Regions from separate parts of the Homo sapiens genome. Here regions 2 and 3 are each linked to region 1. The links are contacts of gene promoters, found by promoter capture Hi-C in human tissues and cell types (Jung and others, 2019). All regions are on one chromosome and are shown on one strand. The core of a region is centred on a gene start or on the middle of the fragment in contact, and the rest is flanking DNA. Distances in the headings are between cores, read along the strand shown.

The links. The method cuts DNA at HindIII sites, captures the fragments that hold promoters and counts their contacts. A contact is called where the count stands out against the background at its distance.
Region 2: a fragment that was not itself captured here is called in contact with the fragment with the promoter of ADCY5 in region 1 in 5 of the 25 tissues and cell types used here (IMR-90 fibroblasts, dorsolateral prefrontal cortex, heart left ventricle and 2 more).
Region 3: a fragment that was not itself captured here is called in contact with the fragment with the promoter of ADCY5 in region 1 in 2 of the 25 tissues and cell types used here (bladder and ovary).

What each region holds. Positions count from the first base shown.
Region 1 is chr3:123,447,840-123,452,182 of GRCh38, forward strand. It overlaps ADCY5 (adenylate cyclase 5), which reads right to left and starts at 1,251. Exons shown (of 21, transcript NM_183357.3): 1 at 1-1,251. The coding sequence starts at 706. RefSeq lists an enhancer at 1-312. The HindIII fragment of the contact is 15,282 bases long and covers 1-4,343 here.
Region 2 is chr3:123,349,339-123,353,681 of GRCh38, forward strand. ADCY5 (adenylate cyclase 5) reads right to left here. Exons shown (of 21, transcript NM_183357.3): 2 at 3,094-3,243. Among named protein-coding and RNA genes, the nearest start is that of ADCY5, 98 kb to the right of the region's middle. RefSeq lists enhancers at 101-601, 1,687-2,665. The HindIII fragment of the contact is 4,980 bases long and covers 1-4,343 here.
Region 3 is chr3:123,513,706-123,518,048 of GRCh38, forward strand. The region is part of intron 4 of HACD2 (3-hydroxyacyl-CoA dehydratase 2); the gene reads right to left. Among named protein-coding and RNA genes, the nearest start is that of ADCY5, 67 kb to the left of the region's middle. The HindIII fragment of the contact is 5,021 bases long and covers 541-4,343 here.

The sequences.
Region 1 (4,343 bases), core at 1-2,500:
GGAAGAAGTAGCGCTGGTACAGCCGCTCCAGTTTGTCCGACGGGAACTTCTTGGAGCGGAATATCTGCAGCAACGCCAGGCAGCAGGCGCCCAGGGACAGCACCGCGCCGGGCCCCGCGCCCGAGCCCGAGTCCGCCGAGCTGCCGCCATCCCCGGACCCCTCGCCGCCCTCGACGGCGCCGGCCTCCAGCTCGTCGGCCGCGCGCCCCTTGCCCCGCCGCTCCTCCAGACCCACCTCCACCGAGCGAGGGCGCACCTCCGTCCCGCCCGCCGAGGCAGCCGCCGCCGCCGAGCCGCCGCCGCCGCCCGCAGGGGGCGCCCGGGTGCTGCCCCCGCTGGCCGCGCCCCGCCGCTGCCGGCGGCTGCCGCGACCGCAGTCGTCGCCGCCGCGCTCCTGCCAGGCGGACTTGGAGCGGAAGCTGAAGCCGAAGCCCCCGGCCAGGGGGTCGTCACCGCTCAGCGGAGGATCGTCGTCGTCGTCGCTGCGCCAGCGGCTGGCCAGGCGCTGCTGCTGCTGCGGGGTCACCGCCCCCCCGGGTTTCTTGGTGGAGCCGCGGGCAGAGCCCCCGGGGGCATGGGGGTAGCCATTCGCGCGGGAATCGGCCTCGCCCCACGCAGAGCGGTGTTCGGGGCCTCCCCGGGGCGCCGGCGCCGCAGTCTTCTGCGCCGCGTAGCCCGGGGGGCTCACGCTTTTGGAGCCGGACATCCCCCCCTCGGCCTCGTCGTCTCCTTCCTCCTCCCCCGGAAGCCGGGCCGGGGGTCTCCAAGGGGAGGGCGGACGGCCGAGCAGGGGGACCAGGCTAGGGTCACACGTCGGGGGCGGCCCGGGGCCCTGCGCTGCAGCGGGGCATCTTGGCACCCCCGTCCTGAGCGGAGGAGGAGGGCACAGCCCCGAGGTGAGAAGTAGCTGAGGATCCGCGTCAGAAGTCCCAGGTCCGAAATGGAGTTGCCTCCGAGGTGGGGTCGCAGGGACTGGTCTGGCTGCTGCTGCGCCGCACGCGGAGAGACGTCCGGGATCCTGGCTCGCGTCGAGCTCGACGAGGGCCGGAGTTGCGGACGAGACGGGACGGAGTGGTGTCCTTGCGGGCGGTGCCTCCTCGGGCCGGCAGTGCCCGGGCGCGGCGCTCGCTGATTCCGCCTAAGCGGAGCCCAGCTGCTCTCGGGGCTCGGCGGCGGCGAGGGCGGCTCGGCGGGGGTCCCGGCGAAGAGACACTGCGGGTGCGCTTTCCTCGCAGCGGACTGGGAGCGACTGGGAGGTGCGGGCGCCAGCCAGCATTATTTTCTTACGAGGGGTGGGGAGGTGGGATGGGAGGTGGAGAGGACGGGGGAGGGGGCGACGGGCGGAGCAACAGCTCCGGAGCCCCGGGGGGGAGGGTCCTGGAGCCCGGGGGGGCCGTTGCCCGCATCCCCCACCTCTCGCGGCGAGAGTGGATGCGTGGCCCCGGCGAAAGCCGAGCCGAGCCTTCGGCGCGTCCGCGCAGGGGGCGGGGTCCGGGTCAGGGACCGGCTCCTGCGGTGCGGCCCTTCCCCTCTCGCCTCTCCCTTTCCCGCAAACGGAGCGGGGCCGGCCGGGACCTGCCGGCCCGGAGAGCTGTCGCGCCCGCTTCGCAAGCCCCAAGCTCCTCGTCGCCGGCTGCGGGCCCACCGCGGCCGGCGCGGAACGACTAGGCGGAGGACGGAATCCGGCGCAGCGCTGCCGCGGTTCTGCCCCGACGCAGGCAGGCTTCTCCCGGGGAGTAAGGCATCCAGAGATCCAGCGCCGGGGCTCAGAAGCAGCCGGCCCAGAGGGGCCCGCCTGAGAGCCGCGGCGCCCGAGAGGCGCTCCGGGGGGGCCCGCGGGAGCCCGGCTCAGGGCGCGCCATGCACGCTTCGGGCCCTGCGCCGCTCCGGCCGCTCGCGCCGCTCCTCCCTTCTCGCCCGCTCGCCGCCGCCGGAGAGCCCTCCGCATCCCCTCCTCCCGCTGCCTCCCCGCCCCCCGCGCCGCCCGGGCCTCGGCTCACAGCCGCGCGAGGCCGCCTCCGCCCCCGGCCTGGCCATGGCCCCAGCCTCGGCGCCCCGCGGGCATCCTCAGGCCTGGCCGCGGGCACCCCAGTTCCCCTTCCTCACCTAAAATTCTCGCTGCGCCCCTCCCTCCCTGGGACTAGGAGCCGCATCCAGCCTGCGGTCCCGTCACCAGACCTGGGTGGAGCGCGGTCTTCCCCCGCCCCCGGCCAGGGCTCCAGCGCCCCCAGTCCTAGCTCCCCTCTTTTGTATCCCCCTTTAATCCCCCTCCCCCCATTTAACCCAACTTCAGCCCCGGCGCTGCGCCCCCCTTCCCTGGCCCGGCTCGATTGGCCGCTTCCGGAGCTGTCAGACTACAGTCCGGCGCTCTTATTGGGCGATTCTCTGGCCCGGCGGCTGTGCCAAAGGAGGGCGCACCGGGTGGGGGGCGCCTGGGCAGCGAGTGCCTCAAGGAGAAGGAGAACAGAGTCCCTGGAGGGGTCTCAGGGGCCGGAGAGCCAGACCCGGAAATGGACAGGGGAGATGCAGAAACAGGACTTCTGAGACGCAGGAAGACAGTGATGGAAAAGATGGTGATGCAGTGGGTGAGGCCGATGCAGCCGGGGCGGGGCGGACAGGGAGGCTTTGGTGGGTAGTTACCAGGAGAAAGCCCCACAGTGAACACTGGAAACACCTGGCTTTTATAAAGCGCTCTTTGCCTGTTCGTAAAGTCTCATAAATCTCACTTGGTTCCCGTCAGTAATCCTAGGATGAGACAGAGGACAGAGACCGTGTAGCTATTCCCAGCTTATAGATGCAGAAACTGAGGCTCTGGGAGCTTATTCAACTTGCTATAGGTCACACAGGTCTACTAACTTGGCACCCAAAGGTCCTTCGTCAGCGCCAGACTGCCTCCCTAACCTAACAAGGTGTTAGCAGGAAGGATGGGCACCTGAGCAAGCTGGCGTGCCCACTTGGGGGGAAGCAGGGGAAGGGGAAAATGGCTAGATACACAGCACCAGCCACAAGAGGCAGGAATGGAGAGAAGGATTCGACTGCTAGGCAAAAAGGACGTAGGCCTGTAGAATGATGTGTCTACCCAATTCCCTTTGCCCCCAAGCTGTCCTGCTGGAGTTCTGACAGTCTAAACCCTGGAGAGGTGGGAGACCACACTCCTACCCAGCCTGGGGGTAAACAGCTTTTACTTTCCCCTTCTTCATCCTCCAACTCTCTCCCCAGAGCTTCTGACAGGGAGCCTAGAGGTCTAAGTGAGCTTCCTTCTTTGTCTCTCTCTGCTGGTCATCTCTGCAGACTGGAAGATAAACCTTGCCAGAGTTACAAATTGGGAGGAGAAAAATTCCAAGAGGTCAGAATAAACTAACCCTTGGGTAATCCAGCCTTTGAGTATTCCACTATTAGCCAAGTTGTAAAAAAAAACATGAATTTAGTCAATAAAAATTCTAGAGAACCCTCAATGTACAAAGCATTGTGCTAGTTGCTACCAGGATAGAGAGATGACCAAACTCTAGACCGGGAACAAGTCGAACAAGTCAGTGACGGAGAAGAGCTAGCCACTATCTCTAGGTCAGAGCAAAGTTCTGGGTTCAATAGAAGTGCAAACAGCACCTCGGGCATTCAGAGAGAGGGGGTGTCACTTCCCACTGTGAGGGCCAAACAAGGGCCTGGAAGTCAAACCTGGGTCTAGCAGGGAAGGATGTCTAAGAAAGGGAGGATGGACTAATTAATATTTACTAAGCAACTGTTGTATGTCTGTAAACATTTTATTGTCAGATAACTATTCTGAGGAAGGTTATCCCCACTATAAAGATGAGAAAACAGACTTAGGGAATCAAAAAGTTTGTCCAGCCAGGCATGGTGGCTCATGCCTGTAACCCCAGCACTTTGGGAGGCTGAGGCAGGCAGATCATCTGAGGTCTGGCGCTCATGACCAGCCTGGCCAACATGGTGAAACCCGTCTCTACTAAAAATACAAAAATTAGCCGGGCGTGGCGGTGTGAGCCTGTAATCCTACTCTGGAGGCTGAGGCAGGAGAATCACTTGAATCCGGGAGGTGGAGGTTGCAGTGAGCCGAGATCATGCCATTGCACTCCAGCCTGGTTGACAGAATGAGACTCTGTCTCAAAAAAAAAATAAAAAATAAAAAGGCCGGGCATGGTGGCTCACGACTCTAATCCTAGCACTTTGGGAGGCCAAGGCAGGCGGATCACGAGGTCAAGAGATCGAAACCATCCTGGCCAACGTGGTGAAACCCTGTCTCTACTAAAAATACAAAAATTAGCTAGGCGTGGTGGTGTGTGCCTGTAGTCCCAGCTACTTGGGAGGCTGAGGCAGGAGAATTGCTT
Region 2 (4,343 bases), core at 1,042-3,541, 97 kb before region 1:
AGGACCTGTCCAGCACTGACGAAGTCCTGCTCATCTGGAAACAGCTCTCACACTTGTCCTTTCTGTTCTGTGCCTTCCTCCACTGCCCACATGCAGTTCTCGCCTGGCTCTTGGATTCTGGTCGCGACACCCTGGACCGACAGCCTCCCTCTGCCCTCCCTGACGCCTGCACAGCCCCGATCTCTCTGAAACACTACCTGTGCTCAACACCTCCACAGGTTTTCTAGTTTCACCAGCCACATCACATATGGGTTCTTCCAGACCCGCTGAACTCACTCTTCCTTATTTTCCACTGCAAAGCAAAGCCCATGTCCCCCTACCCCCTTGCTATGCCTCATGCTTGCCTGGCCCGCTCCTGCCACCCCCAGACTGGCTGCTGCTCCTCTCCTTGCTGAAGCACCCTCTCCACCCAAACCTCAGCCTGTTGCCGCCCAGGCCACCTTCAGGGCCAGACTGGATGACCAGGGTACCCTCCAGATCACTTTGCTTGTCTCCAAGCTTGCTGCCTCTGGTCCATCCTTCCCACTGCAAGCAAGCAACTGCTTTTCCTAAAATACACCAGACCATGTCGCCTTCTAAGCCTCCTGACACTGCTGAGATCAGCCCACGCCCACAGCCTGGCCTGGAGGTTTCCGTGACCTGACTCCTCCCTGCCCTTCCACCTGCTGTCCCAGCAGCACTGAAATGAAATCCACACTCCACTCCAGATAGAGCAGAACACAGAGGCCCCCACACTTCCTGGGGTCTTTCTTGCTGTTGTGCACAAGCTCCTCAGCTGGCATCACCCTCCTCCTCCGCTGCTCCTCACCCTCCTTCAGGGTCTCCCTTTTCCCAGGAGGAGGTCCAATTCTGGCTGCTGGCATCCCCTCCCCCACTCGCTGAAACGCCACATCAGTGGCCTGTTAACTGTGTGTGAGGAGAGGCCACCTTGGGGACCGGAGCTGCGTCTTGTCCAGTGCCACAGCCCAGAGCCTTATGCTCGAGAAGCTGACACATTAGTGAAGGGCGGTGTTCTCTGTGGGTCGGTCTGGTCTCCCCAAGCAGCAGGAAACACGACCACCAAAGGCCAACTCTCAGTAAATAGTTACTGGTGATAGAAATAGGAATTAAAAGACAGTGTGGGATGACTGGGAGAGACCGTGCTACAAACCGTTTGGCTTCATGAGAGGCCCTCCTACATTTACAACCACCTCTGGGGCTGAGGGCCAGGAGGGGTGGGCAGGGGGCCGCTGAGGAACAATTCTGAGCCCACTCATCACAGGGCACCTAGAAGCTTCCCCCAGGGAGCCCCAGCAGCTCTTTCTGCACGCCTTGCTGGCTATGGCCGGTTGAGAAGCACCTGTCTGCAGAAAGCTTCCCCTCCTCAGCACATTGGCTCCGAATATGGAATGGCAAAAATATTTTCTCCCCTAAATCCCTGTGGATTTGGTGGAATGCCCAGACTGGCCCGGGCAGAGCAAGGAAACTGTGGCAAGCTGTAAAATGGTAATTCCCCTGGAGAAGTGAGAGGCACAGCCCCAAAAATGGAAGGAGGAGGTATCCTGATCTCAGGTGAGAGATGCTGAGGCCTGGAATGGGGATGATGAGGGGCTTTTCAGGAATGCTGAGGCCTGGGGGTGAGTGTGGTGCAGTGTGCCAGAGGCGAGGTACATGTGTTAATAAAGGGCAGTGGGAGGACCCCAGGGACCCTGCCAGCAAGGGCTTCCTTCAAGATGCTGGACCAGAAGCTCAGACAGGGCCAGAGTGAATGGGGAGAGCCAGGCTGGGGACTGGTCAGCTTAAGTGGAGACCTGACAAGACATGGCGACCACCGAGGCAGCGCTGGAAGGGAAGTGGAGACAGGTGGGGACTGGGGGGCCTGGAGAGGTACTACAGAGCTTTGCCCCCTCGTTTGGCTGTCTGGATGTCACCAGCCATATCACTGTGACTCACTTAGGATGCAACCAGATGGCATCAAGGACACCCCCCACAGTACTAAAACATTCTGCACTCAGGGTGGCCACAGCATGTGCTCCGTGCCAGCCTGGAGCCATGAGTGACCACTGCCATCTTGGCCATTTCTCCGTGTCCCCCACACTCAAAGGCAGACCTTCCATGTTCATATCAGCCATGGGGGCTGACGCAGCATGCGGCACTTAGATGAGCTCCACTGATGCTTGCTGAGGGTCTGGGGAGATGGTAATCTAAGATGGGAGGGAAGGCCTCCGGTTTGGAGCAACCTTATCTCACAGGAGCTAGTGGGAGCCCCATCACCCTGCAGACCCGCCCACTCTCTCCCCTAGGCCACACAGCCCCCCAGGCCTCCCATGTGTGAGCCATGACTCAGAGTCACCAGACCCCTACCTGATTCACACACAGAAGAGGAGACAGTGGGGATCCAGACCTGGAATCCAAACAGGACTCCGCCCCCAAAGAGGGAAGGGCTGGACCCCTGATGTGGCCCTCAGCCCTGCTCCCACCCCACCCAAGAGTGGTGCACACAGGGCAGGTCCCTCTTTGCACCAGGAATCTGTGGCCCTGGGAATGGCCTGCCTTCCCTGACCCAGGCAGTCGGTCTAGGAAGAGATGGGACTTTCTTCCTTCTCAGAACCACCAAACCCCAGAACTCAGAGAGGGGAATAGCCAGGTGTGGGGTGTTTCAGGGGATGACAGCTCCTGTCTCCTCTTCTTCTCCCTCATCCCTCCCCTGCGGAGCACCTTAATCCCAGTTAGGAATGCTGGCTTCTCTCCTTACTCCAACTCAAGGCGGGGTGCAGTGCGGGGAGGGAGTGGTGAGCAGTGTGGGGAAGGAGTGGGGGCCGTGTGGGGAGGGAGAGAGGGACCCTCTGGCTGCTGGGCTTGTTTGCAAACCACAGGGACGCCACATGGCTATGGGCACCAGGCCTTGGGCACGGGCTGGGTAGAACTCACTTCCCACAGGGCCTGGAATGCTGGACTCTCTCCAGGGGAAACATTCCCCATGGGTTGGTCCCCTCCCGGGGAGTGGGGCTGGCAGCCGTAATAAGCACTGCCCGCCCTAGGCCAGGCACTCAGCTGAGGTACATCTCAGGGCTCGACTCCGTCCCACTGTGCAAGGGCAGGGGCCTCACTCACCTGCTGCTGGTTCTCCCGCTGCGAGTGGAGCCGCGCCTGGATGCACTCTCGGGTCTCCTGGAAAGCCTGTCTCTGGGAGACCTCAGCCGGATAGTGGGTGCAGACACCCACGATGTTGGTGCAGGAGAAAATGAGAACATTGGAGACAAGCTGCAGAGGGAGAGAGGAGCACACCTAGCTCAGATCCTGACCTTCCTGGCCCCAAAGCATGAAGCCCTCAGCCCCTGTCTCAGCAAACTCACACCTGGCGCTAGCAAACAAATGCTGAGGGCACCCCACACGCGGCCAACCACTGTGAGCAGCCGAGCATAATCGATCGGGCTCTCTGATGTCCTCAAAGCCAGAAGTTTGGCTGGCTTGTCATGGGATATGTCCTCTAAAGACACTGAATCACCTAATAATCATACTAAACATGCCTATAGTACCAGAAATTAAAAGGCTACATGTACTGTGACAGAGCTGTGTGTGTGCTCGGGGCAGGAGGGCCACTGCAAGGAAGGTGCCACAAGGGTGCTGGGATTTCACTTTTGAAAGTGTGATAGAGTCCAGTACAGGACAAGGGGCCACCCTCCCCCAGAGATCAGCTCCGATGAATCAAGGATTCTCGAATCCCCTCAGGTCCCCAGCACTGTGCTAAATGCTCTAGGGAACAAAAGGGCAAGGCTGGCCAGTCGGGGTCCATGGCCACAGTGGGTCTCCACTCCTTCCTCCCTAGGCTTCTGGTCTTTCTGTTGCCAGCTCTCTGACAACCACTGCACCAGCCGGCCAGTGCCTGCCATTTCCCCCGCTCCCCAACAACTGAGATGTGTGTGTGGAAAAACACCACTGACCCTCCAGGTCAGCAAAGTCAAAGCTGGAATTCTTTTGAAGGGAATACTTACTGAAAAGCTAAGGGAAAATGAAACACAATACAACACGACACGGAAAGCAAGGTTATACGGTACATTCAGATCCCAGTGAGTGATGTGTAGGCAAAATTTCTCTTGGCAGGTAGAGCTCCTGGATATCTGAGTACATGGGTCCTGTTGTTGTCCTTGACTTGGGGCCACATGGAACAGAGCCACACAATGATGCTCCGGCTCCTAGGCTGTGGGGGCTTTGAGCTGCACCTCAGTTACTCCCACCAAAAACTTCCTTAGTCCCAGCTCCAGAAAAGGAGCCTGGGTCAGCCGCTGCACCTTCTGCTGTGGCTCCCTTAGCCCTCAGGAGGCCTGTGTTAGTCCCAAGTCCTGGGGTAAGGAGGGCACTTG
Region 3 (4,343 bases), core at 1,801-4,300, 68 kb after region 1:
CAGTGCTCAGCACAAGACCTGGAACGCAGAAGATACCGATTACTTTCTCCATTCCAGAATGGAGAAAAAATACATTGTTTGGACGGTTCGTGGAATTTGAATGGAGCATACTGGATTAGACAGTAGTGTTGTATCAAGGCTGATTTCCCGATTTGGAGAGTTCTATGCAGGTGATATAGGAGTGTCTAGAACACATACTCAAGTACTTATGGGTGATAGGATGTTACACACAGGTTGCTCTCAAAGTTCAGAAAAAATAAATGATAATGCATATAAAAACAAAGAGAGGCTGAATATGGTGGCTCATGCTTGTAATCCCACCACTTTGGGAAGCTGAGGCGGGCGGATTGCTTGAGCCCAGCAGTTCAAGACCAGCCTGGGCAACATGGTGAAACCCTGCCACTACAAAAAATACAAAAATTAGCCGAGCGTGGTGGCAAGCGCCTGTGGTCCCAGCAACTCAGGAGGCTGAGGTGGGAGAATCGCTTGAGCCCAGGAGGCAGAGGTTGCAGTGAGCCAAGATCTCGCCATTGCACTCCAGCCTGGGGCACCAGAGTGAGACTTGTCTCAAAAAAACAAAAAACACAGAGAGAGTAGGAAACGAAACAAATGAAGTAAAATGCCAATAATTGGGGAATCTGAGTGAAGAGAATATGAGAGTTCTTTGTACTGCTCTGGCAACTTTTCTCTAAGTTTGAAATTACTTCAGAAAAAATTGTTTTCTAAAAATCACCTAAATACTAAGCAACCACTCCGGGGGTACAATGAGAAGGAAATATAACTATTATCTGGTTCTCTAAACATATTATTTTGGGTGTGAGGCCTCAGGATCTGCTGGAAGAGGTGGGTTTTATAACCATAAAGACATAACATTTATAAGAAAACATATCAACAAGCGTACATGAATGGAAGGTAACTTGAGAGGGAACAGCAGAATGAACACTGGCCCCAATCTACCTCCCCATCAGTATTGTCTTAGACCGTAAACAAGCCGAAGACAAGGTCACAAACTTGCTTTGAAGAAGGGCTAGCTTAGTTATAAGGCAAAATCAAATTCTTAATAAATGCTTTAGATTGGGATAATAATGATGATTAAGATAATGATAGTTCCCATTAGCAGGGCTAATTATTCCTTAAGAATGATAAAAGTAATTATGCATAAATTTTCACCAGCTAACTGTGAAACTATTTTAGTATGTATAAAGAACATATTCAGTTCTGTGTGAAAAGCCAATTATATCTCTGTTAGAAACCTCAGGACACAGAATTCAAAACAGTTATACAGAAATTTGTCATTAAATTTTTGGGGAAAGATTAGGTTACATTATACCCAGTAGGTAGCTAAGATTTATTGAGCACTTACTAAGCACCAGGCAGTGTTCTAAGTGCTTTGTATGTGTTAACTCGCAGACCACCTCATGAAGGGAACCACGGGGCCTGGGAGACTGGCACAGCTCCTGAGGAACTGGAACAGCCTACTCAGCCCTCAACTGGGCAACTGAGGGATGACCCAGCGGTCACAGCACTATCATCCCTCTGCCTTAGCAGTTATCCCACTATATGGTGTTTGCTGTCTGCTGGATTCTGCTTGACTCATACTAGGCTGGAAGCCCTGTGAGGGCAACAACTGCATCTGTCCTTTTCTCATGTGTCTTACTTAGTGCTTAGCACAATGCCTGGGGCATAGAAGATACTGAATAAATATCTGTTGAATGAACAGGAATGAAGAAATAATAGATGGCAACCCAACTGCAGTCTCAGCAAATGTGCTCTGACTCAGCTGGAACAGCCTTGGGTGGGAGGGCAGCTCCTAAGGGGCTGCAGTGCTGGTGCTGGTTGGTCCGTCAGCTGAGGGCTTGGGCTCGAGAACAGGGCAGTTCTAACGACAATCTGGGTCCTTTCTCTAACTTGATTAAGCTTTTTTGAACAAAAATGTTAAGTCATTTGGTTATTTATCTAAAAGGAATTTCATCCTTGATATTGAAATGTAATAGTAATAGATACACACATGGTGGTTTAAAAAAAAAAGATATTTGGATGAGTATGTTGGGGTTTTTTGTTTTTTTTTGAGACGGAGTCTTGCTCTGTCACCCAGGCTGCAGTGCAGTGGCACAGTGTCAGCTCACTGCAATCTCCGCCTCTCCAGTTCAAGTGATTATCTTGCCTCAGTCTCTGGAGTAGCTGGGGACTACAGGTATGCACCACCATGCCCGGCTAAATTTTTGTATTTTTTTGGTGGAGACGGGGTTTCACCATGTTGCCCAGGCTAGTCTCAAACTCCTGATCTTAAGTGATCCGCCCTCCTTGGCTTCCCAGAGTGCTGGGATTACAGGCATGAGCCACCGCGCCTGGCCTAGTATTAGTCTTTTCACACAACAATTTTATGTATAAAGTGTCCTTTATAATTTATTAAAAATCCATGATAAAGTGCCTGCTAAACAAAATACTATTCCTATTTTATGAAAAATGTGAGTTATAAAAATATTAATATTTCTTCCCCTTTAAAGGAGAGAATAATGTGCAACATATTTTTTTTTTTTTTTTTTGAGATGGAGTCTCGCTCTGTCACCCAGGCTGCAGTGCAGTGGCATGATCTTCTGCTCACTGCAACCTCCGCCTCCCGGGTTCACGCCATTCTCCTGCCTCAGCCTCCCGAGTAGCTGGGATTACAGGCGCCCGCTGCGACGCCCGGCTAATTTTTTGTATTTTTAGTAGAGATGGGGTTTCACCGTGTTAGCCAGGATGGTCTCGATCTTCTGACCTCGTGATCCGCCCACCTCGGCCTCCCAAAGTGCTGGGATTACAGGCGTGTGCCACCATACCCGGCCAGATTTTTAAAAAAATCCTACAGTGACAAAGGAAACTGGTTAAAAAGTTCTTACCATTACAACACCAATAACTGAGAACTATTTTTTTGATGTGAATAATGGACTAGTTAAATGTTCTGGCCTATCAAAACAACTCTTGGTCACAAAGTAAACTTTTCTGAACATGCAATGAAAAGATATATAAGCATGCAATCAACAAGCGATACATGATCGATTCTGCATTTATGACAGGCCAGACATGCAGAATGCTAAAATGTTCCCATTAGTCCAACTTTAATGGTTCCTATGTGTTCAGCCTGTTTTCTGGAAAACATGAAGAAAGGATGGTCGGTACCTCAACTAGCCTAGCTTCACCACCACTGGCCTCTACTCCAATTGAGTGTAACTCTGGAATCAAACAGATCTCCAGACTTCCTGGCTGCATGTCCTGAGGCAAGTTACTTATCCTCTCTGATCCTCAGCTTCCTCATTTGTAAACTGGAGAGGTCAGAAAAACATATTAAGTGCTTAGCAAAGCCCTTGCCATTTAAGCAGTTACCATTATTATTCCATGAAGGGAAAAATTCAATTTATTGAGATCCTACTATCTATGCTAGTCACTGCTGAGACTCCATACAACCTGATGGCTGTCTCTTAGGCTTAATTACAAAGAAATGCTTTGTGTTTTTCTTGTTTTGCTTTTTGTTGCCCAAGCATTGTTTAAAAGATGCCACCTCTCCCTCTACTTGAAGGTTAACATATGTCTACCAACTCTGAGATGTCTAAGGATCTCACCAGCTGCTAGTCTTTCCCAATATTCTTCCTTAGTCCTGTTTGATTTGCTCACCTCCAAAAAGCGTGTTACTAACTGAAAAGCTTTCATGCAACTATTACCTTCAACTCAATTCAAACACAGACACTGCATCAGAATGGAGTCATATTTAATCCCAACCTTCATCATATATATCTAATCCAGTCTAAATATTCTATGAAGTGATAGTCCTTTAACTCCAGCAATGATAGCCCAGAGAACAATATTCTCAGCAATTGGTGACTGTGGCCCCAAGAAAAGAGCTGGGGCCTACTCAACCCACAGTCCGCCCCCAAATCTCCAAATGCAGTATCCCAATGTGCCCACCCAACACTCCAGAGGGGAGAAGATTTACCACTGACAGAAAGGTAACTGAAATGTCAAAAGAACATGAAACTGGCAATATATTTTGTGAAATGTCATGGTTCTTTCTGTTCTATGACAGTGTAATAATTGCAAAAATTTCAAAAGGTGGGGAAAAAAAGCTATGAACACCATCTCTTGGACCAGAAATATCAAAATGGTGACCTACGGTCCCTGACCATAGATGTTCTGTTTGGGCTTGTACAGTGCTTTAAAAATATTTGGGCCGGGCGCGGTGGCTCACGCCTGTAATCCCAGCACTTTGGGAGGCCGAGGCGGGCGGATCACGAGGTCAGGAGATCGAGACCATCCCGGCTAAAACGGTGAAACCCCGTCTCTACTAAAAATACAAAAAATTAGCC